Linked DNA regions of Homo sapiens: all the other regions are linked to region 1. The links are contacts of gene promoters, found by promoter capture Hi-C in blood cells and fetal thymus (Javierre and others, 2016). All regions are on one chromosome and are shown on one strand. The core of a region is centred on a gene start or on the middle of the fragment in contact, and the rest is flanking DNA. Distances in the headings are between cores, read along the strand shown.

Region 1 (4,417 bases), core at 1,281-3,780:
TGCAAAAGCAGATAAGCTAAACCACTGCAAAGCATTGCTCACAAATGTTTTAGAGGATTGGAGCTGTCAACTAAAGTAACTGAGGTTTTTCCAAACTGTGTTACATAAGGATGGAACTGTTTCTTATGGTCGTCCACTTTATAGATTTCTGGTCTTTATAACCTTTCAGAATGACAGTTCCATTATGTGTCCAGCCTATGGCATAAATAGCTTTTTTTTCCCTTAAGTTTCAAAAGGCACTCCCTGGTCCACCTATTTAAGAGTTTGATTGACAAGCACAAGCCTGTGTTCTCCATTAATGTCAATCATTTCTCCTTACTCCTTTGTCAGGTGAAAGCTCCAACACCATACCTGTAATTTTAGGTATTGCCCCTCTGCCTTTTAATGCAACACAACATCCATTTTTGGCCAATGATGGATGCAGCATTCAAAGAACTAAGCACTCTGATTTTCTACAAAAGTTGAAGTGACGCTTTCTACTTAGTTTCTAATCTTTTTCCACTGCTGTCTTCAAGGACACCAGCCACAAGTTTCTGGATCCATTTCCCATAATGTTCCTGGAGGCTGCTTAAGGCCCTAATATTTTGTTACTAAGATGTTGTTAAAATGTTTCTAAAAAACACATTGTTCTATTCCTGCTCACAACAAATCTCACTCTCACAGCCTTGGGAGATTTGGGTGGAGCCTGGGAATACAAACGTACTCAAACTAAACTTTCTCTTGAGTATAACCTGTGGAACTTTTAGGTTAAAGGGAGTTACTCCTCCCAGTCCACATACAACATAGATTATGGGGATACTATAACCTAGCAGCCAGGGGATCCACACAATAAAAAGGGCAATGTATGTCCAAAATTATGGTCTCAGAGGAAATGGGAGACTGTAAGAAGTCATATAAATAAAACATTACAGGGATATAGCTTTTAGAAGAAAATGCAATCAAATAAAAACGTTGTAAAAAACTTGCCAAGGAGAAGAAAATTGAGATATATAATACCTAATAGTAAAAGGTTTTTTTGTTTTTGTTTTTAAAAAGCAAGCATGAAAGCGTGGACTTGGTTGGAAACAAGACATTGAAAAAGTAAACTCTCTCATGACTGTAGCCACAGTAGTACTGTCCCCAAGAAAAATTAGATGACTATAACCGCCTTCCCCAACAAACCAAGTTGCAAAGGACTGAAATGCTAAGAATATAATCAGCTAGGATACGAAAACCATGGTTCTCCAATGTGAGCTGAAATGGAATAATTTTTAAAAAAAAAAAGTACAAGCATTACAGTAGCCAGGTAATCAATCACTCGCACAACTGAGCCTGAACCACAGCTCAGCAGAACAATGGAAAAGCCCTGAAGATGTACAATGGATAAAAGACTTGTTCCGGCTGGGTGCAGTGGCTAACGCCTGTAATCCCAGCACTTCGGGAGGCCAGGCGGGCGGATCACCTTTGGTCAGGAGTTCGAGATCAGCCTGACCCACAAGGTGAAACCCTGTCTCTACTAAAAATATAAAATTAGCCGGGCGGGGCGCCTGTAATCCCAGCTACTCGGGAGGCTGAGGCAGGAGAATCGCTTGAACCCGGGAGGCGGAGGTTGCAGTGAACCGAGATCGCGCCATTGCACTCCACTCCAGCCTGGGTCAAAGAGACTCCGACTCAAAAAAAAAAAAAAAAAAAAAAAGAGAGAGACTTATTCCGCTGCAGCGCCAAAATCGCAAGCTCAGAACTCTGCACAGACGGCACTATTTCAAAGGTCAAAACCAGGACCTCAGCAATCTTCCATTAGGTGACTTTACAAAGTGCTACAAAAGTCATGACTACTACTATTCTTTACAACCTAGCAAGCGAAGGAAAGACCGGGGAGAGCCGGGAGGCCGTTTAGGAGAGAAAACTACTTTGACAAAGACTGCACAATTACAGAATAAAAATCAAAAATAACTGATAGAATTAAAACTGATCGCAGTTCATGTCTTTGGCAGCAAACTCCCGTTTGAGCCGAGCAGGAACAAACGCGTTATGCCTGAACCTTGTGCACATACAATTCTTTCTTCTCTTGCACGGCCCGCTTCCAAAATGCATTCACCGCCACTCTCCATGGAACCTTCAGCGGGCCCTGGGGGCAGCCAGAATTTTCCAAACGAGGAAGCTGAGGATCGGCCCAGAACCCTGAATTTTGAGGGGAGTGAGACTTGGGCCCTCACAGGCCCAGACGCGAGATATTTCAACTACACCCGGGAGGCGCGGGGTGAAAACTCCCTGGTGTCGGGCGGGTGCAGGCCCCTCGCGGCCGGTCGCGCCAGAGCTTCCACCTCAGGGTGGGCGGCCAAGCGCGTGGGCACGCTGCAGGGAGGGCCGCTCACCTGGGCAATGCCGGCGCCCATCAGCCCGCCGCCGATGACCGTCACGTGCTTGACGATTATCTTCTTGGCCGAGGCCGAGGCGGTGGACGAGGAGGACACGGAACGCATGAACTGCCTGGTGACGAAGGCCATGGTGTGGCAGCGGCGGCGACAGCGAGGAGACCCGGGCAGGGAAGACGCGCGAGGCGGGCAGCCGCGGAAAGCCAGACTCTGGGGGCGGGGACCTACGCGGCCCTGCAGCCCGCGCGCCCCCGGCGTCCCCGTGACGCCACAAGGCGGGGGCGGGGCCTCGAGTCCCGCTCTGCCCATTGGCCCTGGCTGTAACGTCCCAGCGTTGAGCGGGTATACACGCGCGGGCTCGCAGCTGTCAGCAGCCGGAGCCCGAGTGAGCGCGGGCTTGAGACCTGCTGAGCAGCGGGACCTGGCGGCTGGCGTTCTGGTGTGGGGCCGAGAACAGACCCTTCTTCTGAAAAGCCACTGGCCCCTTGTTCTATGAAGTGAGTGGTGTTGACTCTGTAAAATGCTATCCTTTGATGACATGTGCATATCTAGGCTCTGAAGAAATATGTGCTGCTTGGCTGTGTTGGTAATGGACCCAAAATGTGCACCGTTGGTTGATGTCACCAAATAATCAACTCGGGATTATTTTAATCCCGTGGACAGTGATTGTTTCCCCTAAAAGGGAAATAAATGTAGACTGCGAACACCCAAAACAAATGTCTAGTGACCATGAGTTACAATGCAAAAATCAGGCTCAGGGAAGGTAAAGAGAGAGTTGACCTTTAGTTACCCATCTTGACGTTGGACGTCTATCAGTGCAGTGAACATGTGGACGGTTTAAGGTCATAGAGCAACCTTTCTGGAATAACGAATACTATTAGAAAGCATAGGAAAGAAATGTCTTGTCAAATAATGGAAGACTGGATAGCAGCTTGGCCAATCTTCTCACTCAGGTGAATACTTTCTAATTACTGTAACTTAGTGATATAGGATTCTTATTAATTTATTTGCTTTATGTTTAAATATTGTTAACAAAAAAACTTCAAACAAGTTTAGCAGAGTTTATCTGAGCAAAGAAAGCATGAATCATGTAGTATCCTGAGCCAGTAAAGGTTCAGAGAGCTCCAGCCCCTAACAGTGGGCAAGCCGCGTTTATAGACAATATTTTTTGCAGCCTGTAATGGGCTAAAAGCTCCGCTGCGGTGATTGGCCAAGACTTGGCCACTTGTTAGAAGAACGTACTCTCAAATTACATTGCAGTTTATTTACATATTAGGTTTGATTATGCTTTGCTAGGTAGGGAGGCAACTTTAGGCCAGATTTAATTTAATAACAGTTTCCTCCTTTGGGTCAGCCTCTCAGTTTTACGAGATTGACCAGAACCTTGTTTTGTCTCAGTATGGAAGTCACAATGTCAAATTAGTTGAGTGATTATACTTTCTTCATGTTGTTATTCTAACTGTAATAACACCATTTGGTGTACAAAGGATGGCTGCATAGAGACATTGAAGACTCTCGAGGGGACAACAACACATCAGGGAGACTATTATGGCCACGAGAAGGAGTATAGCAATAAACTGAGGTACACACCTTAACAGGAGTCTCCACAAACTGAACTGATCAAAATTAAACAATTCAAAGTTCAGGCAATAAAGATAGTTCAAAGTATTTGAGTCCAATTGGTCATGGTCTAATTTAGGGCATTATGGCGGTTAAGGACTGCTAGAAATGCTTATTTCTTGGTGCCGTAAAGAAATAGCACTTGAACATAAAATTAATTTCTTTAGCAAGGCCATTTTTACTTTCTGCGGAAAGAGTACACTCGCCAGCAGTTTTGCCACAAGAGTACACCGAACAAAGGAGGCAGGGTCATTTATAACCTGACCCGTCCACCTTACTGTTGTGACTGGTTTCCATTGGCTAGAACGGGACTTCACATTCTGTATTTGTCTTGATTGGCTAGCAACTTAGAAATTCTTAAAAGAGGCAAAGGCAGAGGAGAACAAAGGAAGGAGGAAGTAACTTGTGGAATGCTGAGAAGGGAAAAACACCTCTAAATAAGG
Region 2 (4,417 bases), core at 559-3,058, 510 kb before region 1:
TTTTCAATAATAAAATACGTCATCATTAACTGTAGTCACCATGCTGTACGATAGATCTCTTGAGCTTATTTACCCTTTCTCTTCTCTTCTCTTCTTTTTTTTTTTTGAAGTCAGAGTCTGTCTTTGTCCCCCAGACTGGAGTACAGTGGCTCAATCACAGCTCACTGTAACCTCAACCTCCTGTGCTCAAATGATCCTCCTACCTCAGCCTCTTGAATAGCTAAGACTACAGGCATGAAGTGCCCTGTCTGGCTAGTTTTTTTTTTTTTTTTTTGTAGAGATCGGGTTTTGCCATGTTGCTCAGGTTCATCTTGAACTCCTGAGTTCAAGCGATCTGCTTACCTCAGCCTCCCAAAGTGCTAGGGTTACAGGCATGAGCCACCACATCTGGCCCTATTCACCCTTTCTTACTGTAAATATCTATTCTTTTACCAACATCTCCCCAAACCCACTTCCCTCTAACCATCGCAGCCTCTGGTAACCATCATTCTACTCTCTACTTCTATGAGATCAAGTTTTTAGACTTCACATATGGGTGAGAACAGGCAGTATTTGTATTTCTGTGCCTGGCTTATTTCACTTAGTTATGTCTTCCAGGTCCATCCATGTTGTTGCAAATGACAGGATTTCCTTCTTTTTATGGTTGAATAGTATTCCATTGTGTATATATACCACGCTTTCTTTATTCTTTCATCTGTTGATAGATATATCTTGGCTGTTGTGAATGGTGTTGCAGTAAATGTGAGAGTGCAGATATATTGATTTGACATACTGATTTCATTTCCATTGGATATATGATTGGTAGTGGGATTACTGAATCATATGGTAGCTCTATTTTCAGTTTTTTGAGGAACATCCATACCATTTTCCATGATGGTTGTGCATTCTCACTCACAGTGTACAAGGATTTCCTTTTCTTCACATCCTCTCCAACACTTGTCTTTTGTCTTTTTGATAGTAGCCCTTCTAACAGGAATGAGGTGGTATCTTATTTTGGTTTTGATTTGCATTTCCCTGATGATTAGTGATGCTGAGCATTTTAAAAATACACCTGTTGGCCATTTGCATATCTTCTTTTGAGAAACATCTATTCAAGTCTTTTGCTAATTTTTAAATTGAACTGTTTGTTTTCTTACTACTGAGTTGTTTGAATTCCCCACGTATTTTGGCCATTGACCCCTTATCAGATGTGTAATTTGCAAATATTTTCTCCCATTCTGTAGATTGTCTTCTTACTCTGTTGTTTCCTTTGCTGTGGAGAAGCTTTTTAGTTTGATGCAATTCAATTTCTCTGTTTTTACTTTTGTTGCCTGTGCTTTTGAGGTCATATCCAGAAAATTGCCCAAACCAATGTCATGGAGATTTTATTCTACGTTTTCTTCTAGTATATTCATAGTTTTGGGTTTTATGTTTAAGTCTTTTATCCATTTTGAGTTAATTTTTGTATATGGTGAGGAATAAGGATTTAATTTCATTCTACAAGCGAATATTCAGTTTCCTGAACACTGCTTATTGAAGACACTGTCCCTTCCCCATTATGTGTTCTTGGCACCTTTGTCAAAAATCAGTTTGGTATAAATATTTGGATTTATTTCTAGGATCTCTATTTTGTCCCATTGGTCTGTGTGTCTGTTTTTATGCCAGTACCATGCTGTTTGGGTTACTGTAGCTCTGTAGTATAATTTGAAGTCAGATAGTGTGATGCTACCAACTTTGTTCTTTTTTGCTCAGGATTGTTTTTGGCTATTTGGGGTCTTGTATGGGTCCATATGAATTTTAAGATTTTTCTTCTATTTCTGTGAAGAATATCATTGGTATAGGGATTTCATTGGGTCTGTAGATTACTTTGGGTAGTATAGACATTTTAACAATATTAATTCTTCCAATCCATGAACACAAATATCTTTCAACTTATTTTTGTTTTCTTCAATTTATTTCATTAGTGTTTTATAGTTTTCAATGTAAAGGTCTTTAACCTATTTGGTTAAATTTAATCCTAAGTATTGTTTGTAGGTATTGCATATGGGATTGCTGTCTTGGTTTCATTTTTGATAGTTTACTCAGTATATAGAAACACACTGATTTTATATGTTGATTTTGTATCCTGCAACTTTTCTGAATTTATTAGCTCCAATAGCTATTTTGGTGGAGTTTTTATGGTTTCTAACTGTAAGATAGTGTCATCTGAAAACACAGGCAATTTGACTTCCTCCTTTCCAATTTAGATGCCTTTTATTTATTTATTTATTATCACTTGCCTAATTGCTTGGACTAGGACTTCCAGTACTATATTGAATAGTAGTGTCAAAAGTGGACATCTTGTCTTGTTCCAGATGTTAGAGGAAAAGCTTTCATCTTTTCCCCATTCAGTATGATATTACCTGTGGGTTTACCATATATGATAATAATATGATATCATATATTTATGGTGTTAAGGTACATTCCTTCTATACCTAATTTTTGAGAGCCTTTTTTAAACCATAAAGAGATGATTAATTTTCCCAAATGCTTCTTGTGCATCTATTGAATGTTCAGTGGCTTTTGTTCTTTGTTCTGCTAATGTGATGTATCATGTTTATTCATTTGCATATGTCGAACGATCCTTGCATTCTTGGAATGACTCCTAACTTGATCATGGTGAATGATCTTTTTAATGTGCTGTGGAATTTGGTTTGCTAGTATTTTGTGGAGGATTTTTGCATCTATGTCCCTCAAGGATATTGGCCTTTAGTTTTCTTTTTTTTATTATATCTTTGTCTGGTTTTAGTGTTAAGATAATGCTGGCCTTATAGAATAAATTTGGAAGAATTCTCTCCTCTTTAATTTTCTGGAATAGTTTGAGAAGAATTGGTATTATTTCTTCTTTAACTGTTGGGTATAATTCTACAGTGAAACCATCAGGTCCTGGGCTTTTCTTTGATGACAGACTTTTTATTACAGATTCAATCTTCTTACTTATTATTCATCTGTTCAGATTTTCTATCTCTTCATAACTCTATCTTGATAGGTTGCATGTGTCCAAGAATGTATTCATTTCTTCTAAGTTACTCAATTCGTTGGCATATAATTGTTTATAATAGTCTCTTATGATGCTTTATATTTTGTGATCAGTTTTAGTGTTTCCTTTTTCATCTCTGATTTTATTTACTTGAATTTTCTTTCCTTTTTTCTTAGTCTAGCTAAAGATTTGTCAATTCTGTTTATCTTCTCAAAAAACAGACTCTTCATTTTGTTGATCTTTTCTATTGATTTTCTAGGCTCTATTTCATTTATTTTTGCTCTGGTCTTTATTATTTATTTTATTCTACTAATTTTGAGTTTAGTGTGTTCTTATTTTTCTATTTCTTTAAGGTGGAATGTAAGGTTGTCTGGTATTTTTTTTTAAAAGTAGGTGTTTATTGCTATAAGCTTCCCTCCTTGTACTGCTTTTGCTGTATCCCATAGGTTTTGGTATAATGTGTTTCCATTTTCATTTGTCTCAAGAAAATTTTTAATTTCCCTTTAAATTTTTTAATTGATCCTTTGTTATTCAGGAGCACATTGTTTAATTTTTATATATTTGTGAATTTTCCAAATTTTCTTCTGTTACTGATTGCTAGTTTTATACCATTGTGTCAGAATAAAAGACATTTGACACGATTTCAATCTTAAATTGTTAGGATTTGTTTTGTGACCTAACATATGATTTATTCTGGGGGAGTGGTCCATGTGTAATTGGGAATAATGTGTATTCCATAGCTGCTGGGTGGAATGTTCTGTGTCCTAATATGTCTGTTAGGTCTATTTGGTTAGAGTATGGTTTAAGTCTGATGTGTCCCTGTTGATTTTGTCTGGATGATACATCCATTGCTGAAAGTGGGGTATTGAAGTCTCCTACTATCATTGTATTGCAATCTATCTCTCCCTGCAGATTGATTAATATTTGCCTTATATATTTAGGTGCTCAGATTTGGGGTACATATATAATTCTTATATCCTCTTGCTTAATTAACCTCTTTATAATTATATAATTACCTTCTTTGTTTCTTTCCACAGTTTTGGACATAAAGTCATTTTACCTGATATAAGTATAGCCACTCCTGGTCTCGCTTTGGTATTCATTTGCATGGAATATGTTTTTCCATTTCTTCATTTTCAGTGTATATGGGTCCTTTTAGGTGAAGCGAATCTATTGTAGACAGCATATAGTTAGGTGTTGTTTTTAAATCCATTCAGTCACTCTGTTTTTTGATTGAATAATTTAATTCATTTACATTCAATGTAATTATTGGTAGGTAGGGATTTACTATTGGCATTTTGTTAACTGTTTTTCAATTGTTTGATAGATCTTTTTTTTCTTCCCCTCTTACTATCTTTGTTTGTGATTAAGTGATTTTCTTTAGTAGTATATTTTTTATTTCTTACTTTTTTGTGTGTA
Region 3 (4,417 bases), core at 743-3,242, 490 kb before region 1:
TGTATGCTTTGTTGTAGTGCTGGTGAGAAACGTACGAAACTCTAACATGATCAACAGAGTAGGAGTTCTTGGTGTAATGTTGTGGCATTGCAAATAGGACAAAGCAGGGAGTTGAAACAACTATTCTGCTCATTCAAATTAAAACTAAATATCATCTTTTGGCCAGGTGCGGTGGCTCACGTCTGTAATCCCAGCACTTTGGGAGGCCGAGGCGGGTGGATCATGAGGTCAGGAGATCCAGACCATCCTGGCCAACATGGTGAAACCCTGTCTCTACTAAAAATACAAAAATTAGCTAGGTGTGGTGATGGGCGCCTGTAATCCCAGCTACTCAGGAGGCTGAGGTAGGAGAATCGCTTGAACCCGGGAGGCGGAGCTTGCAGTGAGCCAAGATCACACCACTTCACTCCAGCCTGGGCAACAGAGTGAGACTCTGTCTCAAAAAATGAAAACGAAAACAAAAACAAAACAAAACAAAAAACAAAAACCTAAATATCATCTTTTGACTCTTAAAGCAGCATGTTTCGTTTTCTAAAAGGCACCTGCTATCTCATTTTATCTATGCATTAAACTTCAGCTGGACCTGAATTACCTGCTCTTTGTCCACATGGCCCAAATTCACTAAATAATTGCAGGTATTGCAGGTATGGACTCAATGGTTCCAAGCTCCATTCTGTCTGTAAATTTAAATAAAACTATCCCTTTTGTTTTCTCTGCATAATGATACAATCTAAACAAATAGAGTTTTTGTCTCCAGGCCACCTGGCTCATGGTGATACTACCACACTTTTTATGGGGCATAGAGTCACAGGCCCCAGGTCTAGAGCAAACCTCAGGGACCATCTAGTTCAATCACATTATTCTACAGATGAGGATGAGGAAGCCTAAAAAGGTGAAGCCACTTGTGTAAGGCCATACAGCTAATAACTAGTCAAGGAACAAGAAGAAGGCCTCCTATCATCCATTAGTTGCTGAGCTAAGACTTGTGAAAGTATAAGTGCTCAGACTTATCCATAAGTTTTTCACTAAACTATCTACTTTGATTGTAGGTTTTAATAAAAATTATATTTATTGAAAGAACACTGAATCAGGAGTGAGGAAGCCTGGCTTGCCTGACTCTATCTGTTATAATATTGGGAACTGAAACATCATTTTTTCCCTAGTCTTCATCTAGAAAAATGGAGAACATGATGCTTTGCTCTGCCACCTTCGCAGGGTTGCTATAGCTATCAAATGAACTGATGAAGGAGAAAGTACTTTAAAGTCCAGGCAGACACTTGTGAGAGCAGGGCTTTGGGGTATTAGTCATGAACCCCAGCTCTGCCATATATCATCTGTGGAACTTTGGTCAACGCAATTCATAAATGGGAATAAAGCTGATCTTACTATTATTAAATCCACTTAAAGACTGAATAAAATGTCAGGCATATAAAGTATCTGCCACAAAGTAGACACTCAAGAAATGGTAGCTATTACTAAATAATTAAAACAGTGTACAAAACAGTGGATTGTTGTCTGTTTTCTATTATAGAGATGTGTGACTGCATTCTGTTCAATGCTGTTCCCCAGATTATTATATTTCACTTTCTGTGAATTTTTATACATCTTCAACAGCGAGAACGAAATCAGTCAATAATAGAAATGAAATCAGTCAATAATAGAGACGCATGACACATTCATGCTGAACTGAACTGAGTACACCTAGAGTACGTTTCGACTTACAGAACGGCTCGTTAGAAACCTTCACTGTAGAATTTACAATAGGAAGAAAAGGCTGTTTTGAAAATCAATTCTGAACTTATTCAGGTTGTTCTCAAAACAATGAACTCTTCCACTTCATCCAAATTCAAAATCTGATAAATAGAGTGTATGAGGAGATCAGGCACAAATCACAGACCAAGGGGGTCCCTGCACCTTTAAATGAACTTGGCCTGATTGCTCTCTTCATATACAATGTGTGCATATGTATATACGTCACGAAGCCACGTGGAGATCACCAAAAAGGCCTGTGTGGCAAGTGTGCACACTCTGAGGCTGATTGGGAGAATGGAAACTCCATGTGCAGATATTTTCCCACATAGGAAGCATGGGCACCCTATGGCTCTTTTGGCTTACTCCAATTTTATTCTTCCATTTATGAGGAAGAAGAGAGATTGAAAAATTAGGCTGATGCATAATAATACACATAAATTCATAAAGTCCTTCATTACAAAGTAAAACCGCAGGGTGGGAGTGATCAAAATAAATTGTATTGTCATAAAGCAATTAGGAGAAAATTAGGTAATCATAAGGTGATAAAAGCCTATTAGTTAAAGGGCCTGAAAAACACAGCGGGTTGTAAAAAATTAAATTCTCACATACAGAAAAAATGCAAATACATGCAATTGTCTCTCCATGGCAAAGAGTCAAATTACTGATGTGTGTGAAGAGTTAAAATAGAAGCCCTGAAAAATGTTAAGTGCAATTTTATTTCTCATCAGTGCTCAGATTTGAGATTCTAAGTTCTTAGCTTTTCTTTCTAACACAATAAGCCTTAAAAACAATTCTGTTATTTGAAGGTAAGGAGATACACCCTTTACAATGAAATGTAATAGTATGTAATGAATTTCACATTGATTTCTACTTTTTAACTCATTGAGACCATTCTAGAATTATAGTCTTCAGATGTCAAAAGAATTTTATTTCTAATGCCATTATTGGAAATTAAGAGACTGAAACATGGGGACGTTAAAGCCAAGTTTGCATTTGGATAATGAGTTAGTTGATGGGAGTAGATCTGATTCCAGAGACTAAATCACTTCTGCTCTTTTTCCCAATCCAGAGCCCTTTCCATTCAGCTATCCTGCTTTTCTTCTATAACGTTAGTGCTTGAAACAGTTGGGCTATATCAGCTGCTGGGAAACTTTTTATGTAAAGAGACAGATAGTAATATTTTTAGTTTTGTTGGTCGTAGGGTCTTTCTTGCAGTTACTCAGTTCTGCTGTTATAGTGCAAAAACAGCCACAGACAATACATAAATGAATGAGCATAGCTGCATCCCAATGAACTTTCCTTTCAAAAACAGACTCAGGGCCAAAACTGGCCTGCTGGCAGTAGTTTACCTACACCTGTTCTGTATCTTTTTTTTTTTTTTTTTTTTTTTAGAAATAAGTAAGAAGGTTTTAAAATAAGTTTAACGAAAATTTCCAGTTGTCATAAAGATATTTGTAATGGGAAGATTGACCAATTCCCTTACTCAAATGTGTCGCTTTTCCTGAGCACTATTCTGAGGCCATCCTCATTGAGCCCAGTTCTTGGCATTGGTATTACAAACAGAAGAAGCTCCTATCTCAGATTAATCTTACCCTTTTCTTCCTCCGTTTCAGTAGATGGTAACACAATGCAGACTGATGCCAGTACACAATGACCCTGTAGTTATCCCAGGACAGTCCTCTCTCTCTTTGTCCAAAATGGCTGATCTGAGTTTAAGGTAGGAATCTAGCTATTTTTCTGCAGCTGGAAAACCAGTTGTCCCAACACTTCAAATAATCTCTTTTTGGCACTGATTAGGAATGCCACATTTATCATATATGAAATTTCTCTGTGTACATAAGTCTGTCTCTAGATTTGCACTTCTGTTTCATGAATGTACCTGTCTATTTCTCTATGAATACATCTTTACTATATTGTATCTCTCTACCAGGAAAATCTCTATTTAGGTTTTCTTTTGGATTTCTTTAACAAAAAATCTACAGTTTTCTTCATATGTCTTGTACATTTTTATAATAGCTTTTACATAAGCTCCATTTCACTGAGTTCTAAAAGAGCAAACAGTAATACACGTAGCTGAAGACTGTGCACTGAAAGTATAGGAGACTGAACTGTAAACAGTTGCCAACTCAGAGCCTGAGAGTGTGGTATAGTTTCTATATCCTTTCTGGTACTAGAAGTGACTGACCAGTGTGCAACAAACAAAACAAAAAAGAAATACAGACTGGACAAGACCAGGAAGAAGAAGAGAAAAAGCCAGACAATTTTACAAAGGACCTGGCCCCAGTCCCGGAGAGTCTTGGTGAACTGTCTTATCAACACCCTCTGGAGGAGGTATCAGAAGCTGTCCCTGGGAACAAGGATTCCAGGAAGAGCTGGGCAGAAGGCACCATCCTGTGAGGTTGTGCAAGCTTTAGAGTTTCAGTTAGATGAAATTGATCTTTCTATGTTTTCCTTCTTCCAGATCTCCACTCTTCCCATTCTGGCTAACTGGCCTCCATTCTCATTATGGACTTGAGTTTATTTAGCCCAGTGTGCCTTATTTTAGTTATTTGTTCTCATTCTTACATTCACTTCTGAGCCTGTGTTTATTTGAACTGGCATGATGTTCATTTACTACATGGTACTAGTCTCTTGGTTTCTCTTGCTTTGCTATGAGAATGACCTC
Region 4 (4,417 bases), core at 581-3,080, 470 kb before region 1:
CAGGAATTTATTTCTCACAGTTCTCAAGGCTGGTAAGTACAAGGTCAAGGCACCAGCATCTGGTGAGGACCTTATTTCCATGCCTCAAATGGTAGAAGGCAGAGGGCAAGAGAGAAACAACTCCCTCTGCCAAACACCTTTATAATGGCACCTAATTCCATTCATAGGGGTGGCACCTTCATGGCCTGGTCGCGTCTTAAAGGCCTCATCTCTTAATACAACCACATTGGCAACACCTAAGTTTTGGAGGGGATTCATTAAAAGCATAGCAGCAAGTATATCTGGTGGACAAATTTTCCAAAGTGACCTCACCTGGATCTAAGAGTATAAAAGAAAATTGCCCCCCATGGTGACTGTACCAATTTACACTCATACTAACAATGTATGAGAGTGTTTGCTTCCCTCACCTTCACTGAAAGAGTGTTATAAACCACTTACTGAAGTCAGTAAAATGAGTCTTTCATTGAGCATCTGAAGTCATGGCCTTGGTAGTTAAAAGGTACTGTCTCTCTTTTATAGACCTTAAAAATCCAGAACACTACTTGGTTGATCCATACCTGGTTCTTTTTTCAGGTAGACAGTTCAAGTTTCCTTAAGAAGACACCATCCTTTTTCCTAGGCCTATCTTCTTTGCTGTCTCTGCACAAAATGAAGCCTGGAGTGAGGCAGCCTAGGAATCAAAATTCTAGCTTTGCAGTCAAAAGCCTGAGGGTGTTGCTAGATGTCAATTTGACTTCCCTCTTGTCCTTACTTTTAGATTCCATTCCAATGTTATCCTTTAATAGTTTTATTTCAGGGAATTTGATTTTATTTCCCAGGCAGTGGAAGTTTGCATAAAGGTTTCATCAGGGGAGTGAATAGGGAAAATGGACTGATGGTGGAGGAGATTAAGCCCGGGGGGTGGAAGTCCAGGTGATTCATGATGGAGGACCCATGAGGGCAGTGTGGCAGCAATGGTGGAGGGTGGTACAGAGACTCAAGATATGGAGAGATAAAGACCAGATGATAGGAGGGAAGGAAGTAGGAGATCTGAAGAGGAAAAGAGAAGTTAGAGATGATGCTAAGATTTTTAGCTTCATCTACTTGGTAAATTATGAATAGAAAAAATAGGGAAGGGGGAGGCAGAAGAAAAGTATTAAATTTATATTTATAGTTTTTGGCTACTCTTTCTCTACTTTTTTTGTTTTTTGCCTACTTCATTTTCCCTTCATATTTTCTACTTTTTTGTTATGAAAATTTTAAAACATGCCAGAATGTTGAAGGAAAGTACATTCAACATTCCCACACTTACCCCCTAAATTAAAAAATTATTGATGCTTTGCTGTATTTGAGTTATACACACATGCAGATGTTTATTTTTGCAGAACGTTTGAAAGTAAGTTGCAGGTAACACAAAAGTTCATCCCTAAATGCTTCAGCATGCATCTCCCAATAATAAGGAAATCCTCCTCCAAAAGCACAATACCATAAAACATTTAAGAAAATTTACATTATTTCTCTAATATTAGCTAATTTAAAGCTTGTCTTCAAATTTTCTACATTATACCCAAAATATCTTTTATAGCTGGTTGTTTCAAAGCAAGATTCAATCACGCTTTATGCATTGCATTTGACTGTTATCTCTTTTAGTTCTTTTATCTCAGAACAGTCTCCATTTTTAAAAATGATATTGACTCTTATTGTCTTTTTGAAGAGACCAGGCCAATCAACCTATAGAGATCACACAATCTGGATTTGCCTGATTGTTGCTTTGTGGTATCCTTTAGCTTTTTACTCTCTCCCTTGTGTTTTATACAAACAGCAAGTTAGGTCTAAAAGACTTGATTACATTCAGGTTAAACATCATTGGCAAGAATAACTTACAGGTATTGCCACATACTTTCTATTTATCCCCTCAGCAGGTATCAAATGGCAGATTGTCCACAATTAGTGATAGTATATTTGATCACTTGGTTAAGGTAGTGGCCATCACATATTTTCATTTTGAAGATACATTTTCCTCTTTGCAATTATCAAGTTGTTTGTGGGGTGATATTTTGACACCTTGCAAATATCCCATCTCTCCTTATAACTTATATTTTGGAATGCTGGCCTATGGAATACCAGGCGAAATTGTCCAATGAGCAACTGGTAAAGCTTAGGGAGTTAAGTTTCAGCAATAGGACTTGAAGTCACTGGTATCAGGATGATGGTTAAAGCCAGTGAAGAGGGTGGGACCATCTAGAAAGAGTATACAGAGAAGAGGACTGGGGATGGGCAAAGGAAGCAGAGCCAGTAGAAGAGACCTAGGGGAAAATAATCCTGAACAAGAATAGGAACCTGCAAGGCTGGGACATGAAAGTTTCAAGTAAGGGTAGGAAGAGGAAACAATATTCAACCCTGTAGAGAGTCTTATCAGACGAAGCCCAGAAGAATGTCATGGAGGAGGGAAACCACCAGAAGATTCTTAGCAGAATGGTGAGGACAGAATCTGCTTGGCAATGAGGGCAGGCTGACTGTAGGGGCAAAGAGAGGGAGAAGAGCATATTCAGAAATAAGGTAATGTGGTTATGAAAAAGATTTTATTTTGCTTGCTTGTTTATTTGAGGGATGCAATATATTTGATCCTATTTGAGGACAAATGGAAAAGAACCAGTGGAGAGGGAGAGGACTAAGACTGTAAGGGGATGATTTATGGTGTTGGAGGAGAGGGCAAGGGAATGTGATTAAGGACACAGGGGTTTCACCTTGCGAAAGGATTGTCCCTTTCACAACAGAGCAACCTCAGTAAGAATGAGGTTTGACAAGGATGATTATGTTGGAGGAAAGTTGGAGGAATTCTCACCGGATGACCTCGATTTCTTCAGTGAGGTAGGAGATTGTCTCATGTAAGCAGGTGTGGGTAATCTGGGTCTTGAATCCCAAACCTTGAAGAGAATAGAGAGTTTTGAACAGCTGTTGAGAAGCCAGTGCATGCCCATATAATAGCAAGGAAGAGGAATATGAAGAGCCCACCAAAAATATGAATGAAGGGTTTGTTCCTTACACATCTGTAGCTCACTAAGTAGATCATAGCTTCCTAAAGAGTCCTCATTTGTTTTCCATTTCCCTCTGTTATTGGTTTAAAATATGGTGTCAGTCAGTGCCTGGCCCTCTGCACTCCCACCCTGTCTGACAACCAACCATTCCTCAGATGGGCCGCCCTCCTGCCCCTCATCCAAGCCCAGTGAGATGCTTGAGAAGTCAGACTCACAGAGACTCACAGAGACCCACTGTGGCATGTCAGAACCCACAGAAAATGTTCCTCCTGTGCATTATTTATGACTTTCCTGCATTTATATAATATCCAGCTTCCTGAAAGTAATTTGTTTTGGATTGTGTAGTGCTGGGCAGCACATCAAAGGTATGCTAAGCAGTGGTAATAAAACATTGAGGTTTATGGTCACTGAGGTATTAAATATCGCTCATAAATTACAGGGTGAGTATTTTAAATGAGCTATGGCTCAGAGAACAGTAGGTGCCCCATCTCTACACATATTAATTGCTACTCCCTGGCTTATTAATTATCAATAGTTTCAAAGGCTTTTTTACGGTCATTTTCTTAAGGAACCATTCTATGCCATTTCTGTGGTTCTGTGAGTGTTCATGTGAATGATGTATTGTGTGCATGAGCTGGCATTAGGCATAATAAAAATGTGAGGATACTTTAGAACATTGTAGTGTCTGATAGCCTTTCATTTAAAAATCAAATATTCCCCCTGTTTTAACCACTGGCATTCTGGTTGCTTTTTCCTAACAAGGCACCCTGCTTACTGCTTTGGACTTCAAGTGGCAAAGTCAGGAGGAGAGTACAGATCTGTTTCATTTCAGTTCTGATCAACTTTTGGTTGTAAGGCTCTATCCCATTGATTCCCACCTTTTTCTGCCAAATTGCCCTGTTGACATTTGATTAAGTTTTACAGGCTCTTTTTCCATTTGAAAACTCCAGTGTCCTTTTTTTCTATACCTGCCTTTAGCATTGTTTTATCATCAACATATCTGAGTTCCTACTTTCTCGCCTCCGCAAGTCTCTGCATATTTCTTCTCAGGCTAGTTCCTTCAGATTCTTGGGTTTAATTATCCGATGTAGAAGTTACCAAGGAGTCCCAGAGGACACCCAAGCACCACACTTGGAAAGGAGCTGGTGTTTTATAAAGTTGAACGGCTCACAATGCATCCCTTGGAAATCTCATTTAAAACAGACATTCCAGACACACAAAGTCAACCCAAAGGTACGGAGCCTTGAGGCATTCTCCCCAGCTTTGTGTATTGTTGGACCAGAGCTATAACAGGCAGTTGAGAGGTTTAAGAAGTAGGTGGCTGAGTGTATAAATCAGATGAGAGTCTTGTCGTCAGATGGCCTTGACCTTGCTGGTCAACCCACATTTTTTGCTGGAGG
Region 5 (4,417 bases), core at 954-3,453, 360 kb before region 1:
CTTTCCTGGCTGAAAGACAAGATTCAAATAAGCTCTTTAGCCCTTAGTTTCAGCATTCCCAAACATCATAAAGATTTCAGCTCTTGTAAAAGGGGAGCCAGTTGTTTACAATAGTCTATTCTGGAGGGATTGGGTGTGTCTCGTGAGGCAAATATTTGCCCATAGGAGGTAATAAAATTGTATTAAGCTCTTCTCCACTACTGTACACGGTCATCAATGTGATTAGCTCACTCAAGTCTATTTTAAGATCCTGTCAGGCACAAACATTAACACAAACCTGGCATTTCTCCTTACGAATATATAATTGACCTTTCAAGTCTGTAATCTCATTTATCAAAGCGGATGGCAAGGATTTATGCAGAATAGTTTGCACACCTCTTTGATTTCAGCCCCCTGAGAACCCAAACATGCATCCCACCCAATCCTGTTTTATTTTCGCCATATCCTGTGTTGTTGAATGGGCCTCTTGTAAAAATGCATTGTGCACACTGCCCCCCACCCCGTGTTTTTCTGAAGTTCTAAACAAATCTTACATCAGTTGTGTAAAATGTGCAGTTCTCTTACATTCCTCAGGCAGACTTTAAAGGTCAAAGTTCTAAAGAGTTGGGGAAATCTTTTTGCAAGGACAAGAATCCACATGGCTGAAAACAAGAAAGTGGTTTAGTGGACAGTAAAGCAAGCTGCGGGGGCAAAATCACACTCCAGAAAATGATGGTTAGAGGGGAGGGTAGAAGTGTGCATATCTGGAGCTTTCTCAAACTATCACCCTCTGCTTGTTATACCCTTTAACTCAACCTTCTGGAAAAATCCACTGACCAACAGCACTGCTTCTTCATTACAGCAACAGCGAAATGGAGTGAGATACTGTTAGATTCTCAGCAAGCCAAAAGGACAGTGGAAGAGCTGGTAAAGAAAACAAGGTTAAGGCCTCGTTGCCCCCATCAGAGCTAAAGCCAACCATTAAAACTCCCTTTAGCATTTCCATTTCTGTGCCTTCACTATTGAGCTCAGCCCTGTCTCATCTCATAGTACCCTCAAGCACCATCATTTGAAATAATTTTATTTCCATAAACATGTATAAAACAATGTTTCTCATAAACATCTATGCGTTATAAGGATTTAACTCTAAATTCCCTTTCAAGTCAGTTCAGGTGCCAGCAAGGATCCAAACTACTCTTTGTTTCTGGCTGAATGATGTACACAATCCCAAGAAAGACACCAAAGAAGCACTCAGCTCTGTTGCTATAAAACTAATAAATAGTGCAATCAACACAGGACACATTCCAGAGAAAGCCTGTGCTCAGTGGCTGGGTACATGACTCAAAGCAGCAGCCTCCCACTATCAAGAGTGGTCGAAAGATTGGGTTGTGAGGATAGGGGAAGGATTACATGTCATAAGAAAAAGGAAATTATGTTGATAATGATTTCTGGAGTCACTGCCAGCAACTTCAGCCAACTTGCCTGCAGGTTATCAAAATGTGCCAAATGTAGGTCCAGCCCTGTCAAGATTCAAAACATTCTTCACTCAGATCAAAGGAAGACCCTCAGAATAATTTTTTTTACTCAATACAAATATTGTCCCCAAAATCAGAGATCTCTAGACTGTCAGACTTAACGTATAGTAGAACAATTTCCCAAGTTACTGTTTTAGTACGAACGTATGGGAATAATTTGAAAAGATGCTTACAATATTGCAAAAACAGTGAGTCCTTAATATCACCATTCAATCATTGTTCAATCATTCACTTAATGCATTTCTTGGGCACTTAATGTGCAAAGTATTTTGCTATTTCTGTGCAGAATCCAAAGTTGGGAGGCAGGATAGCATCACGTTTAGAAATACACACTCTGGTGGCATTCCAAACTTTGGCGGGTCACTTACTAGAGGTGTTATTTAACATCTCTAAGTCACATCTACTTCCTATGGCCCTCATAAAGGTCAAATGAGATAATGAATGTAAAACACTTGGCAGAGCTCCGGGCACATAGAAGTGCCCAGTACATGTTAGTAGGTATTCAAAGTCATAATTTCTAGAATCAAGGCAACATTTCCGAGAATAAAAAAAATCATGGATGTTTGACAGGATATTTGTCCAGCTCCTTAACACATCACTTTCCCTCTTCACACACACATACACAATACTCATGGAGCTCTCAGATTTTCTTTCTGCAGGTAAGTATTTGCTGTTAGGTTTATTTATGCATTGTACTTAGAATTGTTTTTTCTTAAACAGTCAGGGTAGGTGGCTGTGTCAGTCCCACTCTGGACTGATATTCTGAGTCACAACAAATCCCATATTATCTGTACCAAAATGAAACTGCTCCGGCATCTCCAGGAAAGTGTTTACTGACCTGTAAATTACTCCATTGTCCATCTGAGGAGAAAGTAAATCAGCCATCAAGGGGAAAACACAGGAAAGGAAAACAGTTGTTTGTCACAGCGGAGGATTGTTTTTTGTGTTTTTTTGTTTTTTACAAGCTCCTCCGTGTCCTAAGACAAAATAAGAGCCTATGGCTCTGTCCAGTAATGACTTTCCTCAGAAAAGCTGTGTCCTCCCCAAGGTACAGTGAAACCTTTTGCTGAAGTGATGGACTCCTCTTTTGCAACCAGTTAGCACCTGCTCGCAAAACTTGATCCCTCCTTGGTTTGTTTCAAGTGGAGCCAGGGGATCAGGACTTAATTAGCGGTGATATCTCTCACACTGATCAGTTCCATCCAGCTTCCCCTGAGGCCCTAGATTTGTCTCTATCTGGAATTCCCGTGCTTGCTGGTAGGCTTGTGTTTGCAGTTAGCTGGCAGACACTTCCCACTGCAGCGCGGGGCGGCAGGAACACCCCTCGTGGCAGAGCAGGCAGCCCTTGGCGGGGCTTGGTGGGAGGCAAGTCTCAGCACCTTCGTTTAGCCTGGCGCCCACAGCCCAGAGGCGGCCCCACCGTGGAGCTTCCCCCGTGCAAGGACGAGGTCCACTGAGGCTGCCTCAAGTGACAAGGAGTCACCCTCACCAGCTGAAGGAAGAGCCATGGAGGGCTCAGTCCTGTGTGTTTGCAAATGGCCCTTGGGCTGCTGAGGATGGATTTTTTTTTTTTTTTTTAAGAGGGGAAAATGCCTCAGCTCTGTACCAGCTTGAAGCCAAAATAACATGTTTTGGCAACCATTATTTGGCAATTAGGGCCTCAGCTCACTGGAAGCATTCTTCCATGCAAAATATGCCTTAGAAAGAAAACACTAAGCCACATCTGTGTGAAAATATAGGAAGTGAACACAGGAGTGACAGAGCAGTGAGAGTCCAAAAGGGGCTTACTAGACTGGGTTGGAGTCAGGACACATTGGCGGAGGCCAGGCAGTGACTGGGTGACTGGATGTTTTCACAGCCTTACCTCCAAATCTGACCCAGTCCAGCGAGGGACTAAGGATATGGCATGGTGACATCCTATGTGTGTGTCTCCTCCTCCCAGATGATGGACTTGCCTTTCTCTGGCCTTCAAAGGAGCCCTCCCGCACGTTTTAAGCAAAGGCAAAACAGAGGAACGGACCCAGGCCTGGGATCACGTTTTGCTAGTGGGTACACCCACCTCCCTCACCTCAGCCTCCCAGAGGGCAGGCAGAGGGAGTAGATTGGGGCTGGGACACTCCCAGAATTTAGGCCTCCACCAGGGACTGGTAGCTCTTTTCTCCCTTTCATCCAACATTTGAGGGGAAAGTGTGGGAGGAAAAGTAAGAGAGATTCGTCTACCCAACCTTTCATGGAACCCACATTCTTTGATAGAGAGTAATCAAGCAAAATATACTCCTTAACGATGCAATTTTATAGAAACAAAGAGAGATTATGACACATGGCACATGATTTCAGATCAATGTGAAGTTGTTTTCCGCATGTTTCTTGAGATGTTACAAACATACATGTTGCCTCATGCTATGGTCTTCTCTCTTTTATGGGGTGCCTTTTTTATTTCCTACCTCTGCCGAACTCCTCACTTTTTCTGGTGGAACACTTAGTCAAGGTAAGATTTTGAAGGCAGGAAACCATGCCCAGTTAAACCTCCCATGCCCATCAGTGGTAGGCTGGATAAAGAAAATGTGGTACATATACATCATGGAATACTATGCTGCCATAACAAATAACAAAATTATATCCTTTGAAACAACATGGATGGACATGGAGACCATTATCCTAAGTGAACTATCACAGAAAACCAAATGTCCTCACTTATAAGTGAGAGCTAAACATTGAGTATATAGGGACACAAAGAAGGGAGTAATAGACACTGGGGCCTACCTGAGGGTGGCATTTGGGAGGAAGGTGAGGATTGAAAACTACCTATTGGGGTACTATGCTGATTACCTGGGTGACAAAATTATCTGTACATTAAACCCCCACAACACACAATTTACCCATGTAACAAACCTGTGCATGTA
Region 6 (4,417 bases), core at 1,287-3,786, 300 kb after region 1:
CATGCTTAGTTTTTGGCACCTGTGATATATCCAGGTGGACATAGGAAGAATTTGGACATGTGTGTTTAATTTCAGGACAGAGGTCAGGGTTCAAGCTTCAGTGTTGATGTATGTGTTGTAGTTTATACTGTGAAGGCACTTGAGAGAAACGCTCAAGAACTGTGTAAGGTGAGCAGTGGGCTGTGATGGGAGTGTGGGCAACTCCAGTGTTAAGGGATGGGTGAAATAGGAGGAGCCCAGGAGGAGTCTGCCTAGGAAAGATCAGGGAATAACATTATAGGCATCCATAGGCATAGCAGTGGGAAAGCAGCAAAGAGGCCTGGTATTTTAAATACTGAAAAGGACCTATGGTTAAGGGAAAGTTTTTATATGATTTGTTAGTTCATTATGCTGAAAATTTTTTTAGAGACAAGATCTCACTCTGTCACTCAGCCTGGAGTGTAGTGACTATTCACAGGCACAATTGTAGTGTGTTACAGCCTGGAACCCCTGGGCTCAAGTGATTCTCCTGCCTCAGCCTCCCCAAGTAGCTGGGACTATAAGCGTGCTACACCACTGCCCTTAGCAGTTGTTTTGTTTTAAATGGGTGAACTTCCCTTAGCAGTTCATTTGTTTTAAATGGACTTGTACTTGTTTGTTGCTGGGGAGCAGGGAACCCAGCAAAGGGGGAATGCTGAAGATTTCAGGTGGAGTAGAGAGAATGGGTTGAACAGGTCCTGTAGGAGTTCATGAAAGGGGAGGGAATTCCTAGTATGTGAAGGTAGGAGTGGCAGGGAGAAAAGGATCATTAGTATGTAGATAAATTTGTATGACAGAGAAGAGATTTTGCTTGAAAGAGAAGAGATTGAGAGCTTATTCTTGGAGATTTGTTTTTTTTTTTTTTTTGAAACATGAAGTATGGTAATCTGGTGAGAGTGGAAGTAGGTGAGGATTGTCAGAGGGACCATAAGGAAGATGGCAAATGCTAAAATGAGCTGTGTGGAAAAAGGATGGTAGAAATTGCAGGGACCAGCTTTGAAAATATTGGCAACTGCACTTTGATTAATGGAGTATAAATGTGGAGCAAAGGGAGAATCAGGTTTTGAAGACCAGAAAGAAGAAAAGGTTGATTTACAAAGGAAACATTGTTCCAAAGGACAGAGTGGAGAGGGCTTAGAGGGAGCTGCAAGGGTGGTTACTAGAGAGTTGGGAGTTAGGAGCAGAAAAGTTAAGTTTGGGGAGTGTTAGAGAGGAGAAGTGGCTGCAGGGGGCTTGCATTTGGCAAAGAAGTAAACTAGCCTCAGGATTCTGAATGGATCTTTTTTGTGAAATTGCTTTCATGCCAGCTCAGGCTGGGTTTGAATGTGATATTAGAGAGAAGCCTGATGACACCAGCATTCAGGCTGGGCTTTGGCTCAGGATCCACGTAGAATTTGAGTGAAAAAGTTTGTGGTACATTCATTGTTTTCCTTCTGTACCTCCCCAATATCCTGGGTTAGTAGAACAGTATGCCTTTTAAAATTGTCATGAATAATAGGAATTAACCTAATAATTTCTTGGATTTTTTTTTCAGTTTATATTTAAAAACATAAATTTTGTCTATTTCCCACTAAATTGGATGAGAAGCACTTTTTACTCATCTTTAATATTAATATAGTACGTTTGTGATTTGTGTGATCACTTTTTATTTTATTTTTTTTTAAGGATCGCAACAATGCAAGGCAAATTCATGAAGGTGCAAGTTTACCGTTTTTTGAAGTATTTGTTGATGCTCCTCTGCATGTTTGTGAACAGAGGGATGTCAAAGGACTCTACAAAAAAGCCCGGGCAGGAGAAATTAAAGGTCAGTAATATTTTCTTCCCAGTTTCACTTTGCTTAGATATTTTATGTTCCCATATCTAGGATTGATATTTTCTAAGAGATTGGAAGTGTTAGAGTGACTTGGAGCTCCTTGAGGAGAGAATGTAGTCTTATTACACTGTTCTATCTCTCAGGCATAGCAGCAGTGCCTGGTGCTGGACTAAATGAGTCTTGTTGATCCTTTTGGAATCCTGTTCACTAGCCAGAGTTGGGGCTCGGGAGTTGGCGAAAACCTACTTGATAAAATTAGGTGCCTAACATTAAGTTGGACATCAGTTGCCTGCTGCCACCAATTCTACTTTCTTTGTTCCAGGGAAAATGGAGGAAATCCCATAGCTATTGGAAAAAATGCCTGAATTATAAGCATCTTGATGATAAGGATAATGCCTTGTACTTTATTACGATCCTTGGAATGGTCCCTTATTCATTTCATGTACTATTGTTGAATTAGATTGAATTAACATATCACTGATTCTGTTAAAATATATACAGCTGACCCTCCACATCTGTGCATTCCACATGTGTGGTTTCAACCAACCGTGAATTGCATATATTCCAGAAGAAACAGTATAAAATAATACAGCAATTTAAAAATAGTATAAATAACAAATATAGTATAACATCTATTTATATAACATTTACATTGTACTAGGTATTATAAGTAATCTAGAGATGATTTAAAGTATATAAAAGAATGAACATAGGTTATATGCAAATAGTACACCATTTTATGTAAGGGACTTGCACATCCTCACATTTTGGTGTTCACAGGGAGTCCGGGAACAAATCCGCATGATTACCAAGGGACAGCTCTACACCTTGCTTTTTAGGTTTTATGGTCCGCTTCCCAGAGTTTCAACTGTGATGGACATTTAGACATTGAGGGAGAAATTTAGAACCCAACTCTGCTCTGGCCTTTGATATTAATCATACTATTTATCTTGTAGACATCCCTTGACTTGTCCTGTTCCATTATTGTTAACAGAAACAAAGGACTTGCTGGCAAAAACAAAACAAAAACAAAACGAAACAAAACAAACAAAAAAACTAACTAAAGATACCATTGTTTAGGGATCAGTGAGTCATGCAGGTAACTTTTAAGTTTGCCTTCCCAGCAGGGAATGTGATAACCTGAGACTGTCACAGAAACTCCCAGGAGCTCTCTCAGAGATAGATTTTGGCATTCAGTTTCTGGCCCTGAAAACAAAAAGATACAGTGGGAAGGAAAATGGTAGTTATTCTGGGTTCTTCTGTATTTGAACCTGGGAATGCTTTGGCAATTAGGTCAGGTTCCATCTGCTGTAGTAGCATTAGTTCCATGGGCAAGGCTGACCTCCGGTAATGCCACTATGGAGAATCAGCTCCTTGATGGGGACTGCTGCCTGTCAACCCTCTACCTCATTAAGCTGTTACTTTCTTGACTCAGAAAGATCAGGCTGCTTAACCAGAATAATTATGACAATTGGAGGAAAACCTGTTTAGCCCTTCAGCTCCCATATTACTCTCTCAATGGCCAGTTTTCACTTCAGTCTTTGTGTAGAAATTTGGCACAGAAAAGCAAAATGGTGTGTCCAGGATCCTAAATAAAGTCTAAACCTTTTACTTACTTTAATTTTAGTTGATTTTGTTGTTTTTGAAAGAATGGATTGGTGAGGGAGGAAGGTTTGTCATCCTGGCTGGAGTAGGCTACTTGTGAGCAGGGAGATCATAGTGAACACTTGTGTGTGTTTAGAATTTAGCACAGTACATTGCCCAAAGCATACACCTGTCACACACATAGTTAATGCTTGTTGGATGGATGAGAAGGTGGAGTGGGAGTGGAATGTTGAACACACATTTGCCAATGCTTTGGCGACAAAAAGAGTTGAACTCTTGTAAAATATTTGAAGAGATTCGAGACCATCCTCGCTAACACGGTGAAACCCCGTCTCTACTAAAAATACAAAAAATTAGTCAGCATGGTGGCGGGCGCCTGTAGTCCCAGCTACTCAGGAGGCTGAGGCAGGAGAATGGCGTGAACACAGGAGGCAGAGCTTGCAGTGAGCCGAAATTGTGCCACTGCACTCTAGCCTGGGCGACAGAGCGAGACTCCATCTAAAAAAAAAAAAATTTTTGAAGAGATTTACTCTGAACCAAATACGATTGACCATGGCCCGTGACACAGCCCTCAGGAGGTCCTGAGAACATGTGCCCAAGGTCGTTGAGGCACAGCTTGGTTTTATACATTTTAGAGAGGCATGAGACATCAATCAAATACATTGGTTTGGTCCAGAAAGGTGGGACAACTCAAAGCCAGGTGGTGCGGGGAGCTTCTAGGCTATAGGTGAGTTTAAATGTTTTCTGGTTGACAATTGGTTGAGTTTGTCTGAAGAACTGGGATTGATAGAAAGGGAATTGTTCAGGTTAAGATAAAGATTGTGGAGACCAAAGTTCTTTTGAGGTCTTACAGTGGCTACCCTTAGAGACAATAGATGACAAATGTCCCCATTCAGATCTTAATCTCTTTAGGATTGGGAGGGTCTGGAAGAAAAAAATATAGTTTTGTTAATAAAGATTCTTTAAAGGTGCAAATTTTCC

What was found. The method cuts DNA at HindIII sites, captures the fragments that hold promoters and counts their contacts. A CHiCAGO score of 5 or more calls a contact.
Region 2: a contact is called between a fragment that was not itself captured here and the fragment with the promoter of HADH in region 1, in 1 of 17 cell types (non-activated CD4 T cells). The highest score is 6.1, in non-activated CD4 T cells.
Region 3: a contact is called between a fragment that was not itself captured here and the fragment with the promoter of HADH in region 1, in 2 of 17 cell types (activated CD4 T cells and non-activated CD4 T cells). The highest score is 6.7, in activated CD4 T cells.
Region 4: a contact is called between a fragment that was not itself captured here and the fragment with the promoter of HADH in region 1, in 1 of 17 cell types (non-activated CD4 T cells). The highest score is 5.4, in non-activated CD4 T cells.
Region 5: a contact is called between a fragment that was not itself captured here and the fragment with the promoter of HADH in region 1, in 3 of 17 cell types (fetal thymus, activated CD4 T cells and non-activated CD4 T cells). The highest score is 6.3, in fetal thymus.
Region 6: a fragment that was not itself captured here is called in contact with the fragment with the promoter of HADH in region 1 in 1 of 17 cell types (monocytes); the score reaches 5.0 in monocytes.

What each region holds. Positions count from the first base shown.
Region 1 is chr4:107,988,002-107,992,418 of GRCh38, reverse strand. It overlaps HADH (hydroxyacyl-CoA dehydrogenase), which reads right to left and starts at 2,530. Exons shown (of 8, transcript NM_005327.7): 1 at 2,355-2,530. The coding sequence starts at 2,486. RefSeq lists a silencer at 2,534-2,763. The HindIII fragment of the contact is 11,946 bases long and covers 1-4,417 here.
Region 2 is chr4:108,494,736-108,499,152 of GRCh38, reverse strand. No RefSeq gene overlaps it. Among named protein-coding and RNA genes, the nearest start is that of RPL34-DT, 120 kb to the left of the region's middle. The HindIII fragment of the contact is 1,085 bases long and covers 1,266-2,350 here.
Region 3 is chr4:108,477,375-108,481,791 of GRCh38, reverse strand. No RefSeq gene overlaps it. Among named protein-coding and RNA genes, the nearest start is that of RPL34-DT, 140 kb to the left of the region's middle. The HindIII fragment of the contact is 4,341 bases long and covers 1-4,162 here.
Region 4 is chr4:108,453,398-108,457,814 of GRCh38, reverse strand. No RefSeq gene overlaps it. Among named protein-coding and RNA genes, the nearest start is that of RPL34-DT, 160 kb to the left of the region's middle. The HindIII fragment of the contact is 617 bases long and covers 1,522-2,138 here.
Region 5 is chr4:108,348,891-108,353,307 of GRCh38, reverse strand. No RefSeq gene overlaps it. Among named protein-coding and RNA genes, the nearest start is that of LEF1, 180 kb to the right of the region's middle. The HindIII fragment of the contact is 6,562 bases long and covers 1-4,417 here.
Region 6 is chr4:107,684,444-107,688,860 of GRCh38, reverse strand. It overlaps PAPSS1 (3'-phosphoadenosine 5'-phosphosulfate synthase 1), which reads left to right. Exons shown (of 12, transcript NM_005443.5): 4 at 1,684-1,822. Among named protein-coding and RNA genes, the nearest start is that of PAPSS1, 34 kb to the left of the region's middle. The HindIII fragment of the contact is 4,878 bases long and covers 98-4,417 here.